Linked DNA regions of Homo sapiens: region 2 is linked to region 1. Evidence: promoter capture Hi-C in 16 types of primary human blood cells and fetal thymus (Javierre and others, 2016). All regions are on one chromosome and are shown on one strand. Each heading gives the region's core, a stretch centred on a gene start or on the middle of the fragment in contact. The rest is flanking DNA. Distances are from core to core; before and after follow the strand shown. Region 1 holds the start of COPS4 (COP9 signalosome subunit 4). Region 2 overlaps HNRNPDL (heterogeneous nuclear ribonucleoprotein D like).

What was found. Contacts are between HindIII fragments. The CHiCAGO score rates a contact against its expected background, and 5 or more counts as called.
Region 2: a contact is called between a fragment that was not itself captured here and the fragment with the promoter of COPS4 in region 1, in 1 of 17 cell types (total CD8 T cells). The highest score is 5.2, in total CD8 T cells.

What each region holds. Positions count from the first base shown.
Region 1 is chr4:83,032,130-83,038,878 of GRCh38, reverse strand. It overlaps COPS4 (COP9 signalosome subunit 4), which reads right to left and starts at 3,696. Exons shown (of 10, transcript NM_016129.3): 1 at 3,581-3,696. The coding sequence starts at 3,654. RefSeq lists enhancers at 3,207-3,266, 2,808-3,313, 3,327-3,386, 3,427-3,476, 3,577-3,926 and 2 more. The HindIII fragment of the contact is 6,632 bases long and covers 794-6,749 here.
Region 2 is chr4:82,425,094-82,430,000 of GRCh38, reverse strand. It overlaps HNRNPDL (heterogeneous nuclear ribonucleoprotein D like), which reads left to right. Exons shown (of 8, transcript NM_031372.4): 1 at 1-753; 2 at 1,555-1,723; 3 at 1,822-1,983; 4 at 2,437-2,568; 5 at 2,697-2,811; 6 at 3,368-3,538; 7 at 3,872-3,964. The coding sequence starts at 311. The coding sequence ends at 3,942. Among named protein-coding and RNA genes, the nearest start is that of HNRNPDL, 2.9 kb to the left of the region's middle. RefSeq lists enhancers at 1-79, 231-320, 641-700, 80-875 and silencers at 371-610, 921-1,090. The HindIII fragment of the contact is 3,058 bases long and covers 2,014-4,907 here.

The DNA of each region.
Region 1 (6,749 bases), core at 2,447-4,946:
AAGGTCAAAAGATCGAGACCATCCTGGCCAACATGGTGAAACCCTGTCTCTACTAAAAATACAAAAAAAAGTAGTCGGGTGTGGTGGCATGCACCTGTAGTCCCAGCTACTTGGGAGGCTGAGGCAGAAGAATCGGTTGAACCCGGGAGGCAGAGGTTGCAGTGAGCCGAGATCGCGCCACTGCACTCCAGCCTAGGCAACAAGAGTGAAACTCCATCTCAAAACAAAACAAAACAAACAAACAAACAAAAAAAACAGGTAAGTGCTAATATAATTTTTAGGAGAGAGAAATCATTGGATGGGGTTGATCTTTAAACATTCTAAGTATTTCAATTTAATAACAGTAGGAAGACAGGCATTCTAGGCAAAAATAATCACTATCTGAAGTGTAGTCAATTTTTTTTTGTGAAAATAAGGCCAAAAAGGTAGATGTGTTTGTTTAGAGTTAAGGGCTCATAGGCAAGCAGATATGGACTGTCTTCTAGCTTCACCACTAGCTGTGTGACCTCAGAGCAAGGTATTTCAACTCTGTACTTTGGTTTTCTCTTATTATAATGTAAATAATATCACTACTATCACCTACTCCTACTTGTTAAGGATTTTTAAATGTAAGTAATGTTGTGCTTCGCACAGTAAACTCTAGATGTTATTGACTTTCACTCTAGAGATGAAAACCACTAAAACTGTTGTGTTTGGGACAACAAAGAGAGAATCAGAATCTGAGTTAGAAGGGGCCTTTGAGGCTATCCTCAATAAAGTCTATCCTCCGTTGTGGCTCTCCTATTCTAAAGCTTTATGTGAGATAATAAATACAATGCATAATATGCACAAAAGCAGCCTATAAAATGGAGGAAATGCTTTTCCTCTGGCTAATTTCTTATATAAACTTTAGACAGCTGTGTTAATTCACAGTTATGGGAAAGCATTTCTAACTGAGTTTTTAACAAGAAAACGAGCATAGTCTGGTAGGTTTAAAATGAGCTTTTTAGAGTAGATGAACCTGGATTCAAATACAAGCACTGCCCCTTTCTAGCTATTCATTAATTCAACCACGTTTATTGAACAACTACTGTTACAGATATCCCAATTGCTAGGAACACACAGTATTGATGTTTTAGAAACAATGTATTCCATTATTCTTTAATATGGAATCCTTTGTTACTCAGCTCCTAAAAAAAACACCCAAAAACCTTCATTAAAAGTACATACAAGAAAAAATACATTAAAAAAAAACACACTGATATATTTCAAGGGTATTTCTCTTAAAGCATATAGCTGGTAGAACTGATGTTGTTGTAAGGATAAATATCCTGCTACATTCTTGCCCACATAGGAAATGCAGGCAAGGCCAAGACTTTTCTCAGAAAGCAGCTCTGAAGGAGTTATGGCTAAGACTGCACTGGCTATCAGTTATCAAGCACATTATTTCATTTAATCTTCACAATAACACCATGTGGTAGACTGCTACAGTAACGGCTTCCAATGAATCGTGTCTCCCTCTGTCCAGGCTCCTTTGCAATGTAACTTTGCCACTAAAGAGGTAGTAGTAAGCTCCATTTCCCCTCCCCTTGAATCTGGGCTGGTCTTCTGATTTACTTTGACCAGTACTAGAGAACTGACGTGAGACTTCCTAGGCTATCCTTAAGAGGTCTTGCGACTTCCCCTCTCATAGGCACCTAAGAAAGCCCAAGCTAAACTACTGAATGAGAGACTGTGCAGAGAGAGAGAGAGATCCAGGCAAGAGCAAGATATGCATGTGAGTCCCGCCCCAGGTGTGTTGCCAGCTGACTATATCTGCATGAGTGAGCCCAGACAAGACCAGCAAAGCAGTCCAGTCAACCCATAGAATCCTGAGAAATCATAGTTGTTTTACACTGGTTAAGTTTTTGGTTTGTTACAAAGCAACAGATAACTGAAGCACGCTTTAAGTACTATTGTTTATCTCCAATTCAGACCTGAAGAAGTAAATACTTAAGTTTCAGAATTCTGCAAATACTTGCAAAGCTCTATTTCTTTTGATAACTAATGCACTTATTCTTCTTTAACAAAATAAAAAGTAAAGGAAGCATGGGGAAAAATATAAGCTGATTTTACTTTCATCCATATAAAAATTACAAGCAGAAAGGATTGAGCCATGAAGACATATTTAACTTATTTCCAACCCATACAATAAGTGAATATATATTTACTGACAGCTTAATAGTAACAACAACAATCTTACCGCACTTTCTATATGTCAGGTACTGTTCTACGTGATATAAGTGTGGTAAGTATATATGCACACACATACTCATCTTGTCCTCAGATAATGTCAGACAAGAATAAGTCCTATTATTATCTTCATTTTCCTGAGTGGGAAAATGCAGCACAAAGTAGTTAAGCCCAAAATATACGGCTGAATTTCCCACTGATAAAAGTAGATTACGTTTGCCACCAGAGAAAAGGCAGCCTAGCCTACTTAAAACAGTCAGAATTTCAATGACCAGGTTAGAACAGGTGTATCCCATTAATATACATCAAAGTGATTTCAGCTGTCAGGATGTAAACATTAAGATCAACTTGAGAGGCATACTTTATTTACTTATTTATTTACGGAGACGGGTGGCGGCGGGGGGGGGGGTCTCACTATGTTGCCCAGGCTGGTCTAGAACTCCTGCCCTCAAGTGATCCTCCCTCTCAGATCTCTCAGGCCTCAAGTGATCTCAGCCTCTCAAAGTGCTGGGATTACAGGCGTGAGCCACTGCACCCGGCCTAGAGAGGCATACTTTAAACAGAAAGCATGTTCATTACAAAAGAGAAATGCTGTGACATCTACAAAGAGAAAATGAACAATATACGTCTACCTACCTATGCTTAATACTGTTGACAACTGCTTGCAGAACAGGCACGTCACACATTTTAACTTGGAGTGAACCTAAGCATTCTATATAAATTTCGACAAAATTCAGATTCCTGCAAACATCACTACTGTAGACATCCTGACCCACGATATGAGCACATTCCGCCTATGTGCCATCAGAGTTGGTGGCAGAGAAAATACCCGAAACACAAGGACCCACAGAAGACAGTCTGAATGGTCTGGACGACATGACAGCGGCCATACCGCCTCAACCTCAGCCAGCCCCAAGAAGCCATCTCCCCGAAAAACGCAGCATCAAGGCCCCAGAATATACATTTCTCTGAATCAAAAAAAAAGAGGAGGAAGGTCCAAAGAGAGGCCAGATTCGGTGTGAGGCCGGCCAGCGATGGGAAGAGGTACCAGGGAAGGCTACTAAGGCCAGGGTAGCAGTCGTCTCTCAGACCGCTGTTCCAAAATCCTAAGGGACCAGAAAGATTCTATCAAGAACTGAACAAGCTGACAATCATTTCAAGTCTATAGCCTCGAAGGCCCCTGCACAAGGTCCCCTCCAGCTTTCTGCTTCTCCCAACATTTGCCTCCCCAGCCGACCTCAGGCCCGCCCCCTTGGACGTCAGGCCGGCTCCTAGCTTCACGCCCAAGAGCCGTGGCCAACCTAAGGAGATTAAGGCTGTGGCTTTCTTTCCCCACCTCTGTACTCCCGCGTTCCTGGGAAATACTCACTTGCCAGCCAGATCTTTATGAGAGCCGCTCGAATTCATGAGCTGGGCCAAATCCTGTCGCACGGCTGCCGCCATCTTTCTCCCAGCTCAGCGGTGGATGCGGGGGCCTCTGGCAGCCAAAAAGAAAACGAGTGTGGTCCTCCAGAGTGCAGCCAGAGGGAACCTGAGATGCTACAGAGTAGCGTCTGTGTGGGCCAGAGCGTCGGGTGTGGGAGCCTGGGCTAGCTCCGCCCCCAGGGTTGAGTGATGCGGAGCTCCACTCCTCAGGTCTGAGGCCTGCCCAGGTCTCTCCTACAGGCTCTGGCTCTCACGCTTGGACTTTGGATTGGCTGATGAACTCCAGTAGTGAGTCTCTGGTGTAACTCCAATGAGTAGCCGGTACATAAAACGACTGCGTTTTCGCAAAGTTCCGTTTCTCACGTCTGTGGTTTACCGTCCTTCGATCTTTCAGGCAGCGCTTAAACTGCCTGTGGTAAAGAATGAGTTTTGTTTCCGATTCACCACAGAAGATACTTTTTAGAAATACAATTAAAATGTCCCTATTCCTCCTCCCACTCCGTGCACTTTATAATGGTTGGTCAGACATTCCAGTTTGTCCAGTACAAAGCGATTTTCCCTCTGTCGTCCTGGAGTAATGATTAATATCCCCCCTTTCGGCCGGGCGCGGTGGCTCACGCCTGTAATCCCAGCACTTTGGGCAGCCGAGGCGGGCGGATCACGAGGTCAAGAGATCGAGGCCATCCTGGCTAACACGGTGAAACCCCGTTCTCTACTAAAAATACAAAAAAATTAGCCGGGCGTAGGTGGTGCACCCCTGTAGTCCCAGCAACTCGGGAGGCTGAGGCAGGAGAATGGCGTGAACCCGGGAGGCGGAGTTTGCAGTGAGCCGAGATCGCGCCACTGCACTCCAGCCTGGGAGACACAGCGAGACTCGGTCTCAAAAAATAATAATAATAATAATAACATCCTCCCTTTCATTCTAGAAACCGTTCCATTTCAATGGAAGATTATATGGTCGCCTGCGTTTGTATAACATTCAATACTCATGTATTCTTATAGAATTTCTGCAAATACAAGCAAATATTAATAAAATAAAATTTTACCTCTCACAAGCAACACCACATAATTGTTCTGCCTTGGTTTTTTTTTTTTGCACTTTTCCTGGTACTGTGGTTTGAAATAATTGTCTTCTCCAAAACTCATGTTGAGGGCTGGCGCCGTGGCTCACGTCTGTAATCCCAGCACTTTGGGAGGCCGAGGTGGACGGATCACCTGAGGTCGGGAGTTCGAGACCAGCCTGACCAACATGGAGAAACCCCGTCTCAACTAAAAATACAAAAATTAGCTGGGTGTGGTGGCACGTGCCTGTAATCTCAGCTACTCGGGAGGCTGAGGCACGAGAATCACTTGAAGCTGGAAGGCGAAGGTTACGGTGAGCCAAGATTGCACCACTGCACTCCAGCCTGGGCAACAAGAGGGAAATTCCGTCTCAAAAAAAAAAAAAAAAACAAACAACTCATGTTGAAACTTCATCTTTAATGTGGCAGTATTTAGAGGTGGGCCTTAAATAGGTGATTGGATCATGAGGGCAAAACCCTTGATCTATTCATGGATTAATGGGTTGTCATGGGAGAGAACATGTGGCTTTATTAGAAGAGGAAGAGACCTGAGCTAGCATGTTAGGAAGGTCACTCCCTTGCCATGTGATACCCTGTGCTGCTTCTGAACTCTAGCAAGTCCCCACCAGCAAGAAGGGTCTCATTAGATGTGGCCCCTTGACCTTAGACTTCTTGGCCTTCATAACTCTAAGATATAAATTCCTTTTCTTTATAAATTACCCAGTTTCAGGTATTCTGGTATAAGCAACAGAAAACAGACTAAGACAGCTGGACATCTTACCAGCTGTCCAGTCTTTCAAAATCACTCTTTTTGGAGCTAGAGGATATTACACAGTGAGAGTATGCCTTAGTTTATTTAATCCTTATAGGACATGTTATTTTTAATCAATGCGATGAATAACCTTTGCATACATTATATATGTACAGGTAGAACACATTACCAGAAATGAGGCAAAGGATAGACATACAATTTTGGTAGATATTGCCAAATTGCATTTTATAGGAATGGTATCATTTTGCCTTCCTACCAGAAATATATAGGGGTGCAGCTTCCTACAGCCTTGACTACAAAGGATGTCAAACTTTTGGATTTTTGCCATCTTGATGTGTGATAAATGGCATATTCCCTCTATTGGGAAAGAGAAAGAGAAGAATACCTGAAGAAGGAATCCCTTTTAAGAATGTGTATTAGTCTGTTCTCAGCCAGGCGTGGTGGCTCATGCCTGTAATACCACCACTTTAGGAGGCCAAGGCAGGTGGATCACCTGAGGTCAGGAGTTCGAGACCAGCCTGCTCAACATGGTGAAACTCTTTCTCTACTAAAAACACAAAAAATTAACCAGGCGTGGTGGCGGGTGCCTGTAGTCCCAGCTACTTAGGAGGCTGAGGCAGGAAAATCGATTGAACACAGGAGGCGGAGGCTGCAGTGAGCTGAGATCGTGCCACTGCACTCCAGCCTGGGTGGCAGAGTGAAATCTCAAAAATAAAATAAATAAAAAAAGAATGTATATTAGTCTGTTCTCACACTGCTATAAAGAACTACCTGAAACTGGGCAATTTGTAAAGAAAAGAGATTTAGGCCGGGCATGGTGGCTCACGCCTGTAATCCCAGCACTCTGGGAGGCCGAGGCGGGTGGATCACGAGGTCAGGAGATCGAGACCGTCCTGGCTAACACGATGAAACCCCGTCTCTACTAAAAATACAAAAAAATTAGCCAGGCGTGGTGGCGGGCGCCTGTAGTCCCAGCTACTCGGGAGGCTGAGGCAGGAGAATGGCGTGAACCCGGGAGGCGGAGCTTGCAGTGAGCCGACATCGTGCCACCGCACTCCAGCCTGGGCGACAGAGCGAGACTCCGTCTCAAAAAAAAAAAGAAAAGAGATTTAAATGACTCATAGTTCCACAGCCTTACAGGAGGCATGACTGGGGAAGCCTGAGAAAACTTACAATCATGGTGGAAGGGCAAAGGGGAAGAAAGTATGTCATCACATGAAGGCAGGAGAGAGAGAGAACACAAAGCGGGAGGTGCTACAGACTTTCAAACAACCACATCT
Region 2 (4,907 bases), core at 2,293-4,792, 610 kb after region 1:
CGCAGTCCGCCTTTTTCCGGAGCAGACTGGCCGCGGTGCTAGTCGGTAGCAGCGGCCGCCGCAGCGGCTCCGCACTGGCGAACCGAGGGCAGAAAAAGGCGGGGTTGACGGCTTTTTGGTAGGAGTGGGCTGGACCGGACGCCAGAGACAAAGGCTCCCAAGGCAAGAGGGACTGTGGCCCTGCGTCGGCTCTGCTCGGGACTGCTGACCCCAGGAATTTACGCCCCTTCGTTTTTCTCTTCTGATTCTTCTCTTCTCCCAAGCCCGCGTCCCCTCACGCGTGGCCTCTCTCCTTGCCGGGAGGGCCGCGATGGAGGTCCCGCCCAGGCTTTCCCATGTGCCGCCGCCATTGTTCCCCTCCGCTCCCGCTACTTTAGCCTCCCGCAGCCTCTCCCATTGGCGGCCGCGGCCGCCGCGGCAGCTAGCCCCGCTCCTCCCTTCGCTCGCTCCCAGCTCCGCCCGGCAGGGGGCGCGCCGGGCCCAGCGCCACGTCACCGCCCAGCAGCCCTCCCGATTGGCGGGCGGGGCGGCTATAAAGGGAGGGCGCAGGCGGCGCCCGGATCTCTTCCGCCGCCATTTTAAATCCAGCTCCATACAACGCTCCGCCGCCGCTGCTGCCGCGACCCGGACTGCGCGCCAGCACCCCCCTGCCGACAGCTCCGTCACTATGGAGGATATGAACGAGTACAGCAATATAGAGGAATTCGCAGAGGGATCCAAGATCAACGCGAGCAAGAATCAGCAGGATGACGGGTACCGCACGCTTCTTCCCCCGCTCCCCCTCCCCCAGCGCGCCGCACGCGCCCTTCGTTCCTCGTGAGCCGCGCGCTGCCCCCATTCTTTCTCAGAGTCGATTCCCCGCGTGCCTTCTGGGCCCCACTAGATTGGAGGGAAGAGGAAAGTAAGAGATCGAGGGGGTGACTGGAGAGACCCGGGAAGAGTGGGGGAAGGGCGGAGGGGTTGGAGGAGGAGGGCGGCGGCGTCTGTGTCCCGAGCGCGCAGGCGCCGCGTGGGACCCGGGGGGGAGGGGCCGGCCTCCCAGCGCTGCACGCTGCAGCTGCCGCCGCCTCTTCATTGTGTCTCTGTTACCACTCGGCGCGGTTTTCCTGGGAAGAGTTTTAGAGGACTGAGTTGGGGCACAAGCAGGCGACTGGTACCCAGATTCACAAAACGTGTTATGATTGATGAGTTCTCTGGGTGGAACGTTGGCTTGACAGCTGAGAACGAAGATGGACCTAAGTAAGATAAGATGTGAGGGATTCATCTAGGAAGTTGTGCCTTCTACCTAAAGGAATCTGGGCAGAACCTTTACTGTATTTTATTGGTCTCTTTTGAGCTTTGCTTTATGTAGTGCGGACAGTGAGCTGTCCGCTGGTTTGAGTAACTTCGTTGGGATATTGGGATTTTTGTGTGACATAGATTAAATGTAAACATGAATTAAATTGCCTACACTTAGGGGGTAAATGTCCCTGTTTTTATTTCACGATTTAATTCCAGAACTGAAGGATCATTTGAGTTATTGTTAATTTTTTTTAAAAACACTTTTATTTCTAGTAAAATGTTTATTGGAGGCTTGAGCTGGGATACAAGCAAAAAAGATCTGACAGAGTACTTGTCTCGATTTGGGGAAGTTGTAGACTGCACAATTAAAACAGATCCAGTCACTGGGAGATCAAGAGGATTTGGATTTGTGCTTTTCAAAGATGCTGCTAGTGTTGATAAGGTAGGAACTATGTTTTGCATTGTGCTGCTTTTGTGGTGTTTTGCAAATTTTTCTGGGGGTTATATGGTGCTGTCAGATTAAATAAATCTGTCTTGTAGGTTTTGGAACTGAAAGAACACAAACTGGATGGCAAATTGATAGATCCCAAAAGGGCCAAAGCTTTAAAAGGGAAAGAACCTCCCAAAAAGGTTTTTGTGGGTGGATTGAGCCCGGATACTTCTGAAGAACAAATTAAAGAATATTTTGGAGCCTTTGGAGAGGTGTGTGATTATGTTTACACATGTTAAGCTTGATGTGTTTATAAAATGTTCAATCCTTGTCCGATTTATGCAGGGCAGATTCATGTTTCCTGTAAGAGTAGAATTAAATGACTGCTCAAGTCGCTTCCAGTGACTGTACCTTGATTTCATTGCTGCTCTGATGGAAACCCAACTATCTAATTTAGCTAAAACATGGGCACTTAAATGTGGTCAGTGTTTGGACTTGTTAACTAGTGGCATCTTTGGGTACAAAATAATATTAATTTCTCTCAATGCTTCAAATATACAACAAATCACTGTAGGCTGATGTTGATCATAAAGCAGTGATGTCTGTATAGAAGTCACCCGATAAGAATAACATGTTTAAGTTGAAGCCTGAAAAGGCCTTTGGCATTCTGACACTGTAACGTTTTACAATTATGGGATGACGTTGAGTGTGCATCTCGATTTCAGATTGAAAATATTGAACTTCCCATGGATACAAAAACAAATGAAAGAAGAGGATTTTGTTTTATCACATATACTGATGAAGAGCCAGTAAAAAAATTGTTAGAAAGCAGATACCATCAAATTGGTTCTGGGAAGGTAAAGCCATTTAAGCACTTTAAATGAAAATTTAAATAATTGAAATAATTTCTTGATGTGGAGAAAAATAAAATGATTTAATTTTAGAACTTCGGTAAAAATTATACTTTCATGTTTTTTGTTTATAGTGTGAAATCAAAGTTGCACAACCCAAAGAGGTATATAGGCAGCAACAGCAACAACAAAAAGGTGGAAGAGGTGCTGCAGCTGGTGGACGAGGTGGTACGAGGGGTCGTGGCCGAGGTGAGACTTAATTCTTGAAATATGACTCCGTGGTTTATTTAAGCTGTATACTGCTGAATATGAGTAGTCCTGTACCAAAGCAAAACTTTAAACTTAAAACCATTCCAGCGGAGGGGGGACTGTTCAGCTTAGTGGAGGTTGTGTGTGGTGGTTTTTTGTTGTGAGCTCACTGGTTTCAAAAAACTGTTAAAAGTGTGGCCACTTTGACAATTAGTGTCATCACTGATAGGAAAAGTGTACCATTACATGATACACCGTGGTGTGATAGGTTTTCTTGGGCAGGAGTCCTTGTTTTAAACAGAACAGTGTACCTGTCTTCGGCTTTAATGGAAAATTGAATGATTTTCCATTAAGTTTAGGAAGTTTGATACTGGCACAATTGGACTTTCTGCCTCCTTTTTTATAACAGCTGGAAAAATAGTTTTTCAAGCAGATAGCAATATATATGTCCATTCTGCCCTTTAAGATTTGCAGAGTGAGAGACAAGAACGCATCATTTTATGTTAGAATTGGGGGTCAGAAGTTGTTTCCTAACAATCATTGTGCATTGTTTCAGGTCAGGGCCAAAACTGGAACCAAGGATTTAATAACTATTATGATCAAGGATATGGAAATTACAATAGTGCCTATGGTGGTGATCAAAACTATAGTGGCTATGGCGGATATGATTATACTGGGTATAACTATGGGAACTATGGATATGGACAGGGATATGCAGACTACAGTGGTAAGAATATTTAACTTAATTTTATAAAGCAGTGGTATTAAAATTCATTGTTAACATACAATCCTGTTCTGAAATTGTGTGTATGGGCTTTCCATTAAAGTGTTCGGAGTTAAGTGTTTGAGGCATGTTACAATCATAGGATGATTATACTAACATAGACTGGTGGTTATAAATGAACTAGGATGTATGATTTATGAGTAGCATCTAATGGGTGCTAAAATATCTTAATACTTTTTATTTAGCATGCAAAGATTTGTAGATTTAATAGTTTGTGTTTGTAAAGAAAGTTTTGTAGAAAACTATCTTAATGAGAATTCTGTGTTTTCAAAATAGGCCAACAGAGCACTTATGGCAAGGCATCTCGAGGGGGTGGCAATCACCAAAACAATTACCAGCCATACTAAAGGAGAACATTGGAGAAAACAGGTGTGTATAAGAGTACAGGAAAACAGTAGAAATGTCTAATTTAATTTAAAGATCAATAGACAAATGAAACGTAAAAACAAAATACTATGTAGCCTGTTTTTACTAAATTGTTGATTTTTTAATTGCTTTATGAGCCTGTTTTGCCTAAAGTGTCTATAGATCTTTAACTTTAAAGTCTTATCTCACTTTCTTTAGTATTGCAGAAAAACTTAAGAGTTTTTCTGTTTGCTTTTGTGTACCAGGTGGTCTAGAGGAATAATTAAACATTTTAGAACTATTAACAGGTAAAGTACTGAAATGGGTACAACTTAAGGAAAACAAGAATGTTGTCTTCTAACTCTGACATTATACCTTGTTTGTACCCGCCAGCGGGAACTTCATTGCAGGCCGTGTGTCACCCTGACCACGTCTATCTCTGGGGGTCGCACGTTGCGGGCAGAGCGCAAGGCATACACCAGAAAACGCTGTCCTGTGGTATGGTCTCTTCCAACTTCATGTACCAGCGTAAAGATTAAAGTGGAAAACTTCAGACTTTGGCTTCATTTTTAATCTTTTTGGAGATTAAGTGTCTAAACTTAACTTAAATGGTTTTTTACAGGAGTTAAAGTACATAAATGCCTTTTTACAGCTTAATCATTTTGGTCTTCTGTTTAGTGTTGTATTTCAATTGTGGAGCCTCATTTTAAGTGTTCATTCTTTTAAGATTTAATGCTTGCTTTTTCTTTTTATAGCTAATAGTGAAATCTACAAACCAAAACAAGAACTTTTAAATCTGGGATATAAATTAAAGATCATATGCACAGATCAATTTATGTTCTTGTAATAAACTTATTAGAAATTGGTGTTTGTGATAGCATTTTACTTGGGTTACTAGAGATGCTTCTAGTAGACCTTAATCTAGCATAGTTGAACCTCTGAATATGGGAAGGTTGTATTCCCAGAT